Regions from separate parts of the Homo sapiens genome. Here all the other regions are linked to region 3. Evidence: promoter capture Hi-C in 16 types of primary human blood cells and fetal thymus (Javierre and others, 2016). All regions are on one chromosome and are shown on one strand. The core of a region is centred on a gene start or on the middle of the fragment in contact, and the rest is flanking DNA. Distances in the headings are between cores, read along the strand shown.

Evidence for each region. Contacts are between HindIII fragments. The CHiCAGO score rates a contact against its expected background, and 5 or more counts as called.
Region 1: a fragment that was not itself captured here is called in contact with the fragment with the promoter of TOP2A in region 3 in 1 of 17 cell types (neutrophils); the score reaches 5.3 in neutrophils.
Region 2: a contact is called between a fragment that was not itself captured here and the fragment with the promoter of TOP2A in region 3, in 1 of 17 cell types (neutrophils). The highest score is 5.4, in neutrophils.

Annotation. Positions count from the first base shown.
Region 1 is chr17:40,064,175-40,068,039 of GRCh38, reverse strand. All of the region lies in intron 1 of THRA (thyroid hormone receptor alpha), which reads right to left. Among named protein-coding and RNA genes, the nearest start is that of THRA, 3.1 kb to the right of the region's middle. The HindIII fragment of the contact is 1,656 bases long and covers 1,019-2,674 here.
Region 2 is chr17:40,081,691-40,085,540 of GRCh38, reverse strand. It overlaps THRA (thyroid hormone receptor alpha), which reads right to left. Exons shown (of 9, transcript NM_199334.5): 5 at 1,559-1,706; 6 at 726-931. Among named protein-coding and RNA genes, the nearest start is that of NR1D1, 17 kb to the left of the region's middle. The HindIII fragment of the contact is 5,422 bases long and covers 1-3,850 here.
Region 3 is chr17:40,415,578-40,419,426 of GRCh38, reverse strand. It overlaps TOP2A (DNA topoisomerase II alpha), which reads left to right and starts at 1,531. Exons shown (of 35, transcript NM_001067.4): 1 at 1,531-1,656; 2 at 2,532-2,687; 3 at 2,915-3,005; 4 at 3,359-3,422. The coding sequence starts at 1,636. RefSeq lists enhancers at 1,536-1,625, 1,347-1,872. The HindIII fragment of the contact is 7,280 bases long and covers 1,256-3,849 here.

The sequences.
Region 1 (3,865 bases), core at 597-3,096, 350 kb after region 3:
CTGTTTTGAGAGGATGTGTGTGTGGGGGGTCTCACTCTGTTGTTCAGGCTAGAGTGCAGTGGCACAATCACAGCTCACCGCAGCCTCGACCTTCCAGGCTTAAGCGATCCTCCGGCCTCAGCCTCCCAAGTAGCTGGTAACACAGGCATGCGCCACCACACCTGGCTAACTTTTTAAAGTTGTTTTTAGAGATGGGGTCTCACTATGTTGACCAGGCTGATCATGAACTACTGGCCTCAAGTGATCCTCCCGCCTTGGCCTCCCAAAATATTGAGATTACAGGCATGAGCCACTGTGCCCAGCCGAGAACTAGAGTTGAGATTGGTTCCCACTCCAAAGGCTTCCCGTCACCCCTACAGGGTATCCTCCCATTGTCCTTCCTTCACCTTGAGGGGCAGGGCTAAATAAAAGGGGTTTGGAGAGGGGATCCTGATCACCAGACTCACAAAGGCAAAGAGGCAACCCAGGACAGATGCTGGATCTCAAAGTGCTGTGCCCACCACACTGGTCATTACTCAGTGCTTCAGTTTCTCTCTGCCACCACCTTTCACACTAAGTACCACTCCATGGAGGGCAGGGGAATCTGGTGCCTATCAGCCAGAGCTGGGTCCTGGTTGACCAATGCTGGGCTCCCAGGAGGGAGGAAGGGCACTGCCTCCTCTTTGAGCCCACACATAAGAGAGGGGACGGCTTTCCTTGTTCTCTCTCTCCCACCCCCAGAGCTCAGACCCTGAACAGAGATGCAGTGATGCCCAAAGATTTATGCAGGTGCCCCTAGCTGGTGGGGTGTGTCCCAGGCTGAGGGGCCAAGGGCTCCTTGTAAGCTGAAGGGCGAGGGTCAAAGGAGGGTGGGGCAGAGGGGCCTGCCTTGGGCTCTTTCCCATACACTCATTCCAGGCTGCAAAAATTTGTCTGGGAGGAAAAGATTACATGACGGTGAGAAGGCTGGAAATTGGAGACCCACTGCCCCAGGCCCCAGTCTCACTGATGTCTAGGAGACCCAATTCTCCACGAAGCTTCTCTAAGAAATCTGGGAGACCCCAGGCCCACAGCTTCCTTCACCCATCACAACCGCTCACATATACAGTTTGTTATGAACTAGGCACTTTTAAAAACATTTTTCCTCAAAAAAGCTAAATGAGGTAGATATGATCATCCCCAATTTACAGATGAGGCAACGGGGAAGTTAAATCGCTTGCTCAAAGTCACACATCCAGCAAGTGACAGAGCTGGGATTCAGACCTAGGCAGTCCAGGTCAATCATGGCCGTCATGATCATCACCATCATCTCTGTTCTTAGCTGTGATGGTATATCACCTGCTTGATAGATAATGCCTTGTTCTTTTTTGTTTTTCTTTTTTTTTTTTTTTTTTTTTGAGACGGAGTCTCGCTCTGTCACCCAGTCTGTAGTGCAGTGGTACAATCTCAGCTCACTGCAACCTCCACCTCCTGGGTTCAAGCGATTCTCCTGCCTCAGCCTCCTGAGTAGCTGGGATTACAGGACCCCGCCACCACACCCAGCTAAGTTTTGTATTTTTAGTAGAGATGGGGTTTCACCATCTTGGTCAGACTGGTCTTGAACTCCTGACCTCAGGTGATCTGCCTGCCTCCGCCTCCCAGTGTGCTAGGATTACGGGTGTGAGCCACTGTGCCCGGCCCAATGCCTTGTTCTTTCATCCAGCTATGTGTTCCCTGAGACCAAGCCTCAGTCTTTCCCCTCTGTAGCTGCCCTGTGGGTTCTCTGCCAAGTGCCTCCACCTCCAAATAGTCCAAGGCTAGAGGGGAGCATAGCGAGAAGTGCTTGGTGCCCCCGGGCTCGATGTCTCCTGCCTGAGTTCCCCCTCCTCAAATTCCCTCTCCAGAAGAGGTACCCCTTCTAGGCTGGAACCTGCACTCACGGGTGGGAGGGCCTCGCTTAGTACATACTTAGTCTAGGCAGCTGTGCCCTCAGAACCAGGCCCTGAGGCTGGGCAAAAAGGACACAGCTGTTGGGCATCTCTGAGGTGGGCCTCAGCTGCCAGGGGTGTGGAGAAAGGCCATTGTGAGCCCTGCAGTGGACCCAACTCAGCAGGGTCCTGCCAGCTCCCGCCACTGCCCATGGGGGCGGTTCTTTTCCAGCTTGGGCCAGTGTGGGGGGAGCCTCTTCATGGCTTGTTTAAGAGCTGCTAGCTGGCTGCAGCCTGCACCCTGAGGGTGCCCACAGAACTGGTGTCTCCAGACATGCAGGCCCGAGGGGTCAGCATGGGCAGTGGCTGACCCCCCCCCCCTTCCCCCATTCCCAGCCCCTAAAACTTGCTGGCCACAGCTGCGGCACTAAGGAAGTGCAGGAAGTCCTGAGCAGCCAGCTGAGCCCCCCGCCCCCCACCCCAACCTCAAGCTGACCCCAGAGGCTGCGCAGGGGGGGCAGAGGGGCGGAGCTTGGGTATTAACAACTGGAAAAGTATGAAGAACATTGCTGCCAGTCCCCAGCTCTGAGACAAGGACAGGGGTAGATCGGGGGTAGCAACAGGGTGAGAGAGAGTTACAGACTGGCAGAGAAACAAGGAGAGAGAGAGGGAGAATCAGACACTGCAAGACAGAGCAACAGAGAGACAGAGTTAGAGAGAAATTCCAAGTCAAAAGTACATATCACTCACACAGACACTCGCCAGCCGATGGCCTCTTAAGGAAAGCTTCCAAGTTTGGACAGGAGGGTACAGGTGGGAAAAAGGGCCAGACTCAAGGTGGGGCGCAGGAACTCAGCTGGAAGTGACTGACTGTTCCCAGGAAAGACCCAGGCAAATGACTCAGAGCAGGGGCAGTTAGACACCCCTGAGCTTTTAGGGTAGGGAGGAGAGCAGCTCTCCCCTTCCCCAACAGTCAAGAGAATCCTAGCTTCTAGAAGTCACTGGACACTGCTTTGAGCCCATGACTCGGCCCTCTGGAACCCCCCTGAACCCACTGTCTTTGCTCTTGTTTCTCTGTCCCTCTAAAAGAAAGAAAGAAAAAAAAAACAGCCCATTCCCGCACAGTGGCTGAGCCTAGAGGAAAAAGGGGAGGAGGAAGCTGAAGGGGAAAAATTTGTGATTGTGTGCATCTAAGTGTGTGCTCGGCTGCACAGGCTGCAGTTGTGTGTATCTGGGGTTGTGTGGACACGACTGTTGGTGTGGACCTGCAACTGTGGGGACCTGGGCCTTGTGAACTCATTCTGCACCTGAGTTCAGGGGACCATGTGCAAATGAGTGCACCTGTGTCTGCAGGTTCCACAGTCAATCAACTAACAAGTATTTACAGAGCAGCCCTTGTGCTAGGCTCTGCGTGGGATCCAGAGCTCTTTAAGTGATTCTCCCAGGTCTCCAAGAGCTCACTGTCTAGTAGGGTGGTATCTCAAGCGATAGAGACCAAGAACATGTCATTGGGAATGCATGCTTTACACCATTACGCAGGAACACTTTTTCATACAGCCAAATTTAATATTCTTGGGAGCAAGGGTTTTGTTGCCTACAGAACCTCAGAGCTCCACAGTAAAGAGTCCAGGAAAATACTTGTTGCTAAGTTGTGTATACATGTGTTGGTGTGTAACTGTGTTTGCATCTGACTGAGTGACAGCGACTGTCACGGCAAGCAATGATGTCTGTGTGACTGGGCTCATGCGAGCACGTGTGTGCCTGTGAGTGACAGGGTCTTTTGTAATTGTGCTGCTGTGTGCAATTGCTCTGTGTGCATGCATGCATGTGACAGTGACTTTTTATGTGTGGGTGACAGCAACTCCTCCTTGCCCCAGTGTGTGACAGCATCTACGTGTGACCCTGTGCGTGGGTATGTGCATGGATCGGTCCCCATGCTCTTGGTCTCCCATGGGTATATCCCACCCCTCAGAGCTCCA
Region 2 (3,850 bases), core at 433-2,932, 330 kb after region 3:
TCAACATGGTGAAACCCTGTCTCTACTAAAAACACAAAAATTAGCCAGGCATGGTGGCCAGTGCCTGTAATCCCAACTACTCGGGAGACGGAGGCGGGAGAATCGCTTGAACCCAGGAGGCGGAGGTTGCGGTGAGCCGAGATCGTGCCACTGCACTCTAGCCTGGGTGAGAGTGAGACTCCGTATCAAAAAAAAAAAAAATTATTCATAGAGGTGGGATCTCTGTATGTTACCCAGACTGGTCTCAAACTCCTGGGCTCAAGCGATCCTCCCACCTTGGTCTCACAAATTGCTGGGATTACAGGCATGAGCCACTGCACCTGGTCCCAAACTCATCATTTACTTAGCAACTAGCTTGACCAGGGCCTAACATAATGCCTGGCACCCAGCAGGTGCTCAAAAATACTGTGACATAACTGTATCCTTACCCTCTCCTCCCAGTCACTAAGGGCAGGAAAAAGAAGAAAGGTCGCTCCCGCTCCCTGGAAATTCGATGAGGAAGGCAAGGCCCTGTCCTCATTGAGCTCCCAGTTGGATGGAGTAGACAGTCCAGACAGCAAGGACACAAACACAAGTGTATAAAATCTGGACAGCAAAAGTGTGAAGAGTATGTATTTTGGGTTGGATTACACTAAGAAGACTTCCTGGAGGAGGCAAGACTCCGAGCTCACTCTCTTCTCCCTGCCACCTGGCTACTGCTCTCCCCATGCCCCCTTTCTCCTTACCAGGAATTTCCGCCTCTGTTTCCAATGGCTGCCCTGGGCATTGGTGCTGCGATGGGCCTCTGTGGCAATGTGGATCAGATCCCACTCTTCAGGAGTGGGCTCTGGTCGCTGCTGCAGTGATCGGATCATCTCCTCCTTCCGCCGCCGCTCCCGGTTCTGCTCAATCAGCTTACGCTTGGCCACCCGCTTCGAGTCATCTAGAACCACTGTGAACAGAGAGGCACAAGGTCTAACGCATGGCACCCTCCATCCCCTTTCCATAATGCTCCCGGAAACTACTCTTCCTAGAGTACAGGTTGGAGAAACCGAGGGCCATGGAGGCTAAATGACTTCCCAAATCACCTAGCAGTTGGGCAGCACAACCCGGATCATGATTAATCCCCGGGACCATGTCAACAACAGTTTGGGCTGATCCAGATGAATATCATGTTCTGGTCTAACGGATTATGGTGACGGTGGTTACTCGAATATCCTGCCACCCAATCCCCAGCCAATGGAAGATGCCCTGTCTCATCTAGAAGTGGGGTGCCTTCGCTGGGAGTCAAGAACAGTGTGCTAGAGTGGGTGCCCAGGAGCTCTTTCTACCAAACGACTCCCTCTCTAAGGCCCTCGAGTGTTGTAAGGCAGGTAGGCATTGGGGCCCACACAGGGATCCTGTTTCCTTTTGCGCAGGAAGGAGGACAGCAAGGACCAAGACACTGAACATTCTGACCTAGACTGGATTGCCACTCTGCCCTGTGGGCTCTGAGGGTACCCTGGAAGGAAGCTGCCCTCCCAGAACTCATCCCCACCCCAGGCCACCTGGCTCTATTCCCTCCACCTGGGCCCCTTACAGTCCATGGCCATGCCCACGGCGATGCACTTCTTGAAGCGGCACAGCTGGCACTGATTGCGGGTGATCTTGTCAATGACACAGCAGCTGTCATATTTGCAGGAATAGGTGGGATGGAGGTTCTTCTGGATTGTGCGGCGAAAGAAGCCCTGGGGTGGGGGAGATGGAGCAGGCTGTGATCATGACATGGCTTCCCCTTCCTGAACCAACCATGCAGTTTACTAGGGGTCAGGGGTGGAGAGCAAGGAAGGCAAGATCAGTGAGGGGACCTGGCATCCTCCTGACACCATGAGCCCAAGATTACTAGGCTCAAGGACCTGAGAAATATATGCCCTCAGCCCCCAGGCTGCTGAGGGGTTGGGGGTGTCTGGGTAGTGTTTGTGGCAGAGGCAGGAATGATGTCTAGAGCAGGCAGCTTTGAACCTGGGATAATGTGAGGCCTTAAGGAATAGCAGCTTTGGAAATCCAAGTCGCCGGGCGCGGTGGCGCACGCATGTAATCCCAACACTTTGGGAGGCCGAGGTGGGCAGATCAACTGAGGTCGGGAGTTCGAGACCAGCCTGACCAACATGAAGAAACCCTGTCTCTACTAAAAATAGAAAATTAGCCGGGCATGAGGTTGGGTGCAGTGGCTCATGCCTATAATCCCAGAACTTTGGGAGGCCAAGGCGGATGAATCATGAGGTCAGGAGTTCAAGATCACCCTGGCCAACATGGTGAAACCCTGTCTCTACTAAAAGTATAAAAATTGGGCGTAGGCCGGGCGCGGTGGCTTATGCCTGTAATCCCAGCACTTTGGGAGGCTGAGGCAGGCGGATCACAAGGTCAGGAGATCGAGACCATCCTGGCTAACACGGTGAAACCCTGTCTCTACTAAAAATACAAAAAAAATAGCCGGGCATGGTGGTGGGCGCTGTAGTCCCAGCTACTCGGGAGGCTGAGGCAGGAGAATGGCGTGAACCCAGGAGGTGGAGCTTGCCACGAGCCAAGATCGCGCCACTGCACTCCAGGCTGGGTGACAGAGCAAGACTCCGTATAAAAAAAAAAAAAATTACCCGGGCGTGGTGGTGGGCGCCTGTAATCCCAGCTACTCAGGAGGCTGAGGCAGAGAATTGCTTGAACCCAGGACACAGAGGTTGCAGTGAGCCAAGATCGCGCCACTGCATTCCAGCCTGGGTGACAGAATGAGACTCCATCTCAAAAAAAAAAAAAAAAAAAAAAAAAAGCATGCGATTCTATAGTGTAGCAGTTATCACATCTGCTTTACATGCAGAAGGTCCTAGGTTTGAGCCGCGGTGGAACCACGGCGGGGTCCACCCCTTGGCCGGGCGCGGTGGCTCATGCCTGTAATCCCAGCACTTTGGGAGGCCCAGGCGGGCAGACTGCCTGAAGTCAGGAGTTCAAGACCAGCCTGGCCAACATGGTGAAACCCCATCTCTACTAAAAATATAAAAATTAGCTGGGCCTGCCCCTGTAATCCCAGCTACTCGGGAGGCTGAGGCAGGAGAATCGCTTGAACCCAGGAGGTGGAGCTCGCATTGCACTCCAGCCTGGGTGACAAGAGTGAGACTTCATCTCAAAAAAGAAAAAAAAAAGAAAAAATTAGCCGGGAATGGTGGCACATGCCTGTAATCCCAGCTACTTGGGAGGCTGAGGCAGAAGAATTGCTTGAACCCAGGAAGCAGAGGTTGCGGTGAGCCAAGATTGTGCCATTGCACTCTAGTCTGGGCAACAAGAGCAAAACTCTGTCTCAAAAAAAAAAAAAAAAAAAAAAAAGGAAATCCAAGTAAAACCTCATTTTCCATTTTGCTAAATGACTTTAAAAACAACACTGACCCAAAAACCATTCTCATATATGTTGCCTGTTGTCCATGCAGGTGGAATTCATAAAACAGGGGAACCAAAAAAGTCAAGGAAAGGGACTGAGTATGAACTCTAGTAGGGGAAGAGAAAAATTTCAATTCTCTACATTGGGATTCACCTTTATTTTATTTTTTTAATTTAATTTTTTTTTTCTTTTTGAGATGAAGTTTCACTCTGTCACCCAGGCTGGAGTGCAGTGGTGTGATCTCAGCTTACTGCAACCTCCACCTCCCAGGTACAAGCAATTCTCCTGCCTCAGCCTCCCGAGTAGCTGGGACTACAGGTGCCCACCATTACGCCCGGCTAATTTTTGTATTTTTATAGAGATGGGGTTTCACCATGTTGGCCAGGCTGGTCTCGAACTCCTGACCTCAGGTGATCTGCCCACCTCGGCCTCCCAAAGTGCTGGGATTACAGGCGTGAGCCACCG
Region 3 (3,849 bases), core at 282-2,781:
TGACTCACACCTGTAATCCCAGCACTTTGAGAGGCTGAGGCGGGCAGATCACTTGAGGTCAGAAGTTTGAAACCAACCTGGTCAACATGGCAAAACCCTGTCTCTACTAAAAAAATACAAAAATTAGCCAGGCGTGGTGGCAGGCGCCTGTAATTCTAGCTACACGGGAGGCTGAGGCAGGAGAATCGCTTGAACCCGCGAGGTGAAGGTTGCAGTGAGCCTAGATCGCGCCATTGCACTCCAGCCTGGGCGACAGAGTGAGATTCCATCTCAAAAAAAAAAAAAGCAACAAAAAAACAAGCAAACAAAAAAGCTTCAGTCTTGGCATTTCCTTGTCAAATTGGAACAGCTGTTCTGGACTGCAGGGTTCACGGAGGTGAGCAAAAGTAGCCAGTCGGAGGGTATCTGGCCAGCTGGCTGCGGAAAAGGTTTCAGCCCCGGACGGCTGAGCCCACCCTCAGCTCAAGAGGCTACCACCACAAGTTATCCCTTTCGATTTACCAGTTGCAGTCCAGCGCTGCTCTACTGGGGACCTGAATGCTGCCCTCCATTTTGCAAAGCCTTTCTACATCCTTCCACTATATGGAACCCCCAAACCACAACTGTGGCACTTTTATTTTAATTATTTTTATTATTTATTTATTTATGTATTTATCTCTTGAGGTGGCCTCGCTCTGTCACTCAGGCTGGAGTGCAGTGGAGCAATCACGGTTCAAGGCGCCTCGATCTCCGATCCCCGGGGCTCAAGCGATCCTCCCTCCTCAGCCTCCGGAGCTGGAGTTACAGGTGTGCGATGCCTCGCCTGGCTATTTTTTTTCCTTTTTGGGTAGAGACGGGGTCTCGCTATGTTGCCCAGGCTGGTCTCCAACTCCTAGGCTCCAGCGATCCTCCCGCCTCGGCCTCCCAATGTGCTGCGAATACAGACTCCAGCCACCGCACACAGCCTACTTTTATTTCTTTGAAAAATGAATTCGAGGGTAAAGGGGGCGGGGTTGAGGCAGATGCCAGAATCTGTTCGCTTCAACCAAGCAGCCAGGCTGCCTGTCCAGAAAGCCGGCACTCAGTTTCCTCAGGAAAACGAAGCTAAGGCTCCCATTCCCCTCGCTAACAACGTCAGAACAGAGGACAGTTTTTAGATTTCAGGGATCTTAAATAGATTGGCAGTTCCTGGAGAATAAACATCCTTTGCTTTTCTCCTGCACACTTTTGCCTCAGGCCACCCCTTCCCGCTTCCAAAGCCCATCTCTTCCAAGCTTTCCGCACGAGAAAACAAGTGAGCCCTTCTCATTGGCCAGATTCCCTGTCAATCTCTCCGCTATGACGCCGAGTGGTGCCTTTTGAAGCCTCTCTAGTCCCGCCTCCCTAACCTGATTGGTTTATTCAAACAAACCCCGGCCAACTCAGCCGTTCATAGGTGGATATAAAAGGCAAGCTACGATTGGTTCTTCTGGACGGAGACGGTGAGAGCGAGTCAGGGATTGGCTGGTCTGCTTCGGGCGGGCTAAAGGAAGGTTCAAGTGGAGCTCTCCTAACCGACGCGCGTCTGTGGAGAAGCGGCTTGGTCGGGGGTGGTCTCGTGGGGTCCTGCCTGTTTAGTCGCTTTCAGGGTTCTTGAGCCCCTTCACGACCGTCACCATGGAAGTGTCACCATTGCAGGTACGGCTCGCGGGGGGGACTGGCGGTGGAGCCTCCGCGCGGCCCGGGCATCTCTCTGGCCGCCCGTGACGGGTGAAGCTCTGGGGCTGCGGTCAGGCCGGCGACCGGCTTGGGAGCCCATATTCTCCATTCCCGGTTCCGGGGTGATCGTGGAGAGGCGGAAGCCCCTTCTGGTGCTAGTAGTGAAGTATGACCCGGCTTCCAGGGTGTCGTGCGTTGTTGCCCTGTTTCTAGGGGCAGGAGTCCGTTGGTCCCGTAGTGGATCCATGTTACAGCGGCCCGGGTGCGACGTTATTGAGTCGCGCGTACAGATGCTTTCCCCTCCTGCCCGCTGCTTGAAAACGGTCTTGAATGTCCCCGATCTTGGAAAGGGCAGAGCCTAGCACAGTGTTTCTCTGGAGCAGCTGGCCAGCTTACAAAAGCGCCCCCTTCCTGAGTTCACAACGCTCAGGTGGCCAAGGGATTGAACGGATAGCCGCCCAAACTGCTGCTGCCGAACTAGAATTATTTACGGTGTCGTGTGCTCGGGACACCGTAAATAATTTATAATAATAGGCACTCGGTAAATAATGTATGCAGGAACTGAAAGAAGTGGGTGTATTTTATTGATGACATCTACCATGTTGCTCAAGAAAAGAGGTTTCCAGACAGACCCACTTGGTGAGATAATATGTGTCTGTTTAACCTGACACCTGGGGACCTGGCCGCAGCGAATTTAAATTGTCCTATTTGTACAAAACTGGCAACTCCACCACTGCCTACTAACAGATTGCAATGCATGTTGACATCTCACTATGGTAGGCATTTTGTTCCTAGTTTAGGGTAAACTTATGATTAAAAATTCCCTTCTTTCTCTCTTTTTTTTTAATTGCTAGCCTGTAAATGAAAATATGCAAGTCAACAAAATAAAGAAAAATGAAGATGCTAAGAAAAGACTGTCTGTTGAAAGAATCTATCAAAAGAAAACACAATTGGAACATATTTTGCTCCGCCCAGACACCTACATTGGTTCTGTGGAATTAGTGACCCAGGTAAAATCAAGCTCATCAAAGGCAGTTAACCTAGTAGTTGAAATGGATACTCTTCTTTCTGTACCTTTCATGTACTGAGTGTGACCTTTCTGTATCTCTCATGTACTGAGTGTCACTGGAACTGGCCTAAATATGGTAATACTTAATATGAACACTTTATGGTAATCATGATAACAGAACAATGAATATAGAATAAAAATAACAGTATTTCTTTGCCTTATTTCTAGCAAATGTGGGTTTACGATGAAGATGTTGGCATTAACTATAGGGAAGTCACTTTTGTTCCTGGTTTGTACAAAATCTTTGATGAGATTCTAGGTGAGTAAATCCTTTAATATAAAGATCTGGTCAAATCTTTCATAAGAAGTATCATTCCAAATAAAAATTTAAAAAAGATAAAAGTAAAAACAAAAAGTATCATTTCTACCAAACCTGCTGTAGCCAGGGCTCCTGTCATTTCAATCAGTTGATAAAGGTGAGCTGGTTTCCTGGAGCCCAGGAGGTTGAGCTTCTCGTAGAAACAGTACTATGGACAAAAATTGCTAAATTAACACCTTGTTAATGCCACTCCTGTGCTGTTTGGGAACTTTTTTTTCTATATCTTACTTAGAGTTACAGAATGTTTCTTAAAACACTAATTTCTTACAAATGTATATTTTATTTTCTTTCAGTTAATGCTGCGGACAACAAACAAAGGGACCCAAAAATGTCTTGTATTAGAGTCACAATTGATCCGTACGTCTTTTGCTTAGTTTTTGTTATGTAGCTCGTTGCTATTGTTAGCTGCATGTATTTTGATTACTGGTGAAGTTGGCTTTTCCTAAACAGAAGTTGAGAAAAGTACACAAAAGCAGAATGCTAAAATGAAAAACCTATGGATACCCACCACCTAGATCCAACAGTTGCCAACGTTTTTCCATATTTTCTCCATCTTTTTTTTAATTAGTTAATTTTTTTAGAGGAAGGGGTCTTGCTATTTTGCCTGGGCTGGTCTTAGAACTCCTGGCCTGAAGCAATCCTCCAGTGTTGGCATTATGGGTGTGTGCCATGGCACGCGGCCTATTTGCTCTGGATCATTTCAAAATAAATTACAGGACTTATGACACCTAATCCCTAAATATTTGAGCAAGCACCTTCAGTAATTGCTTTAAGTATTCTGGCA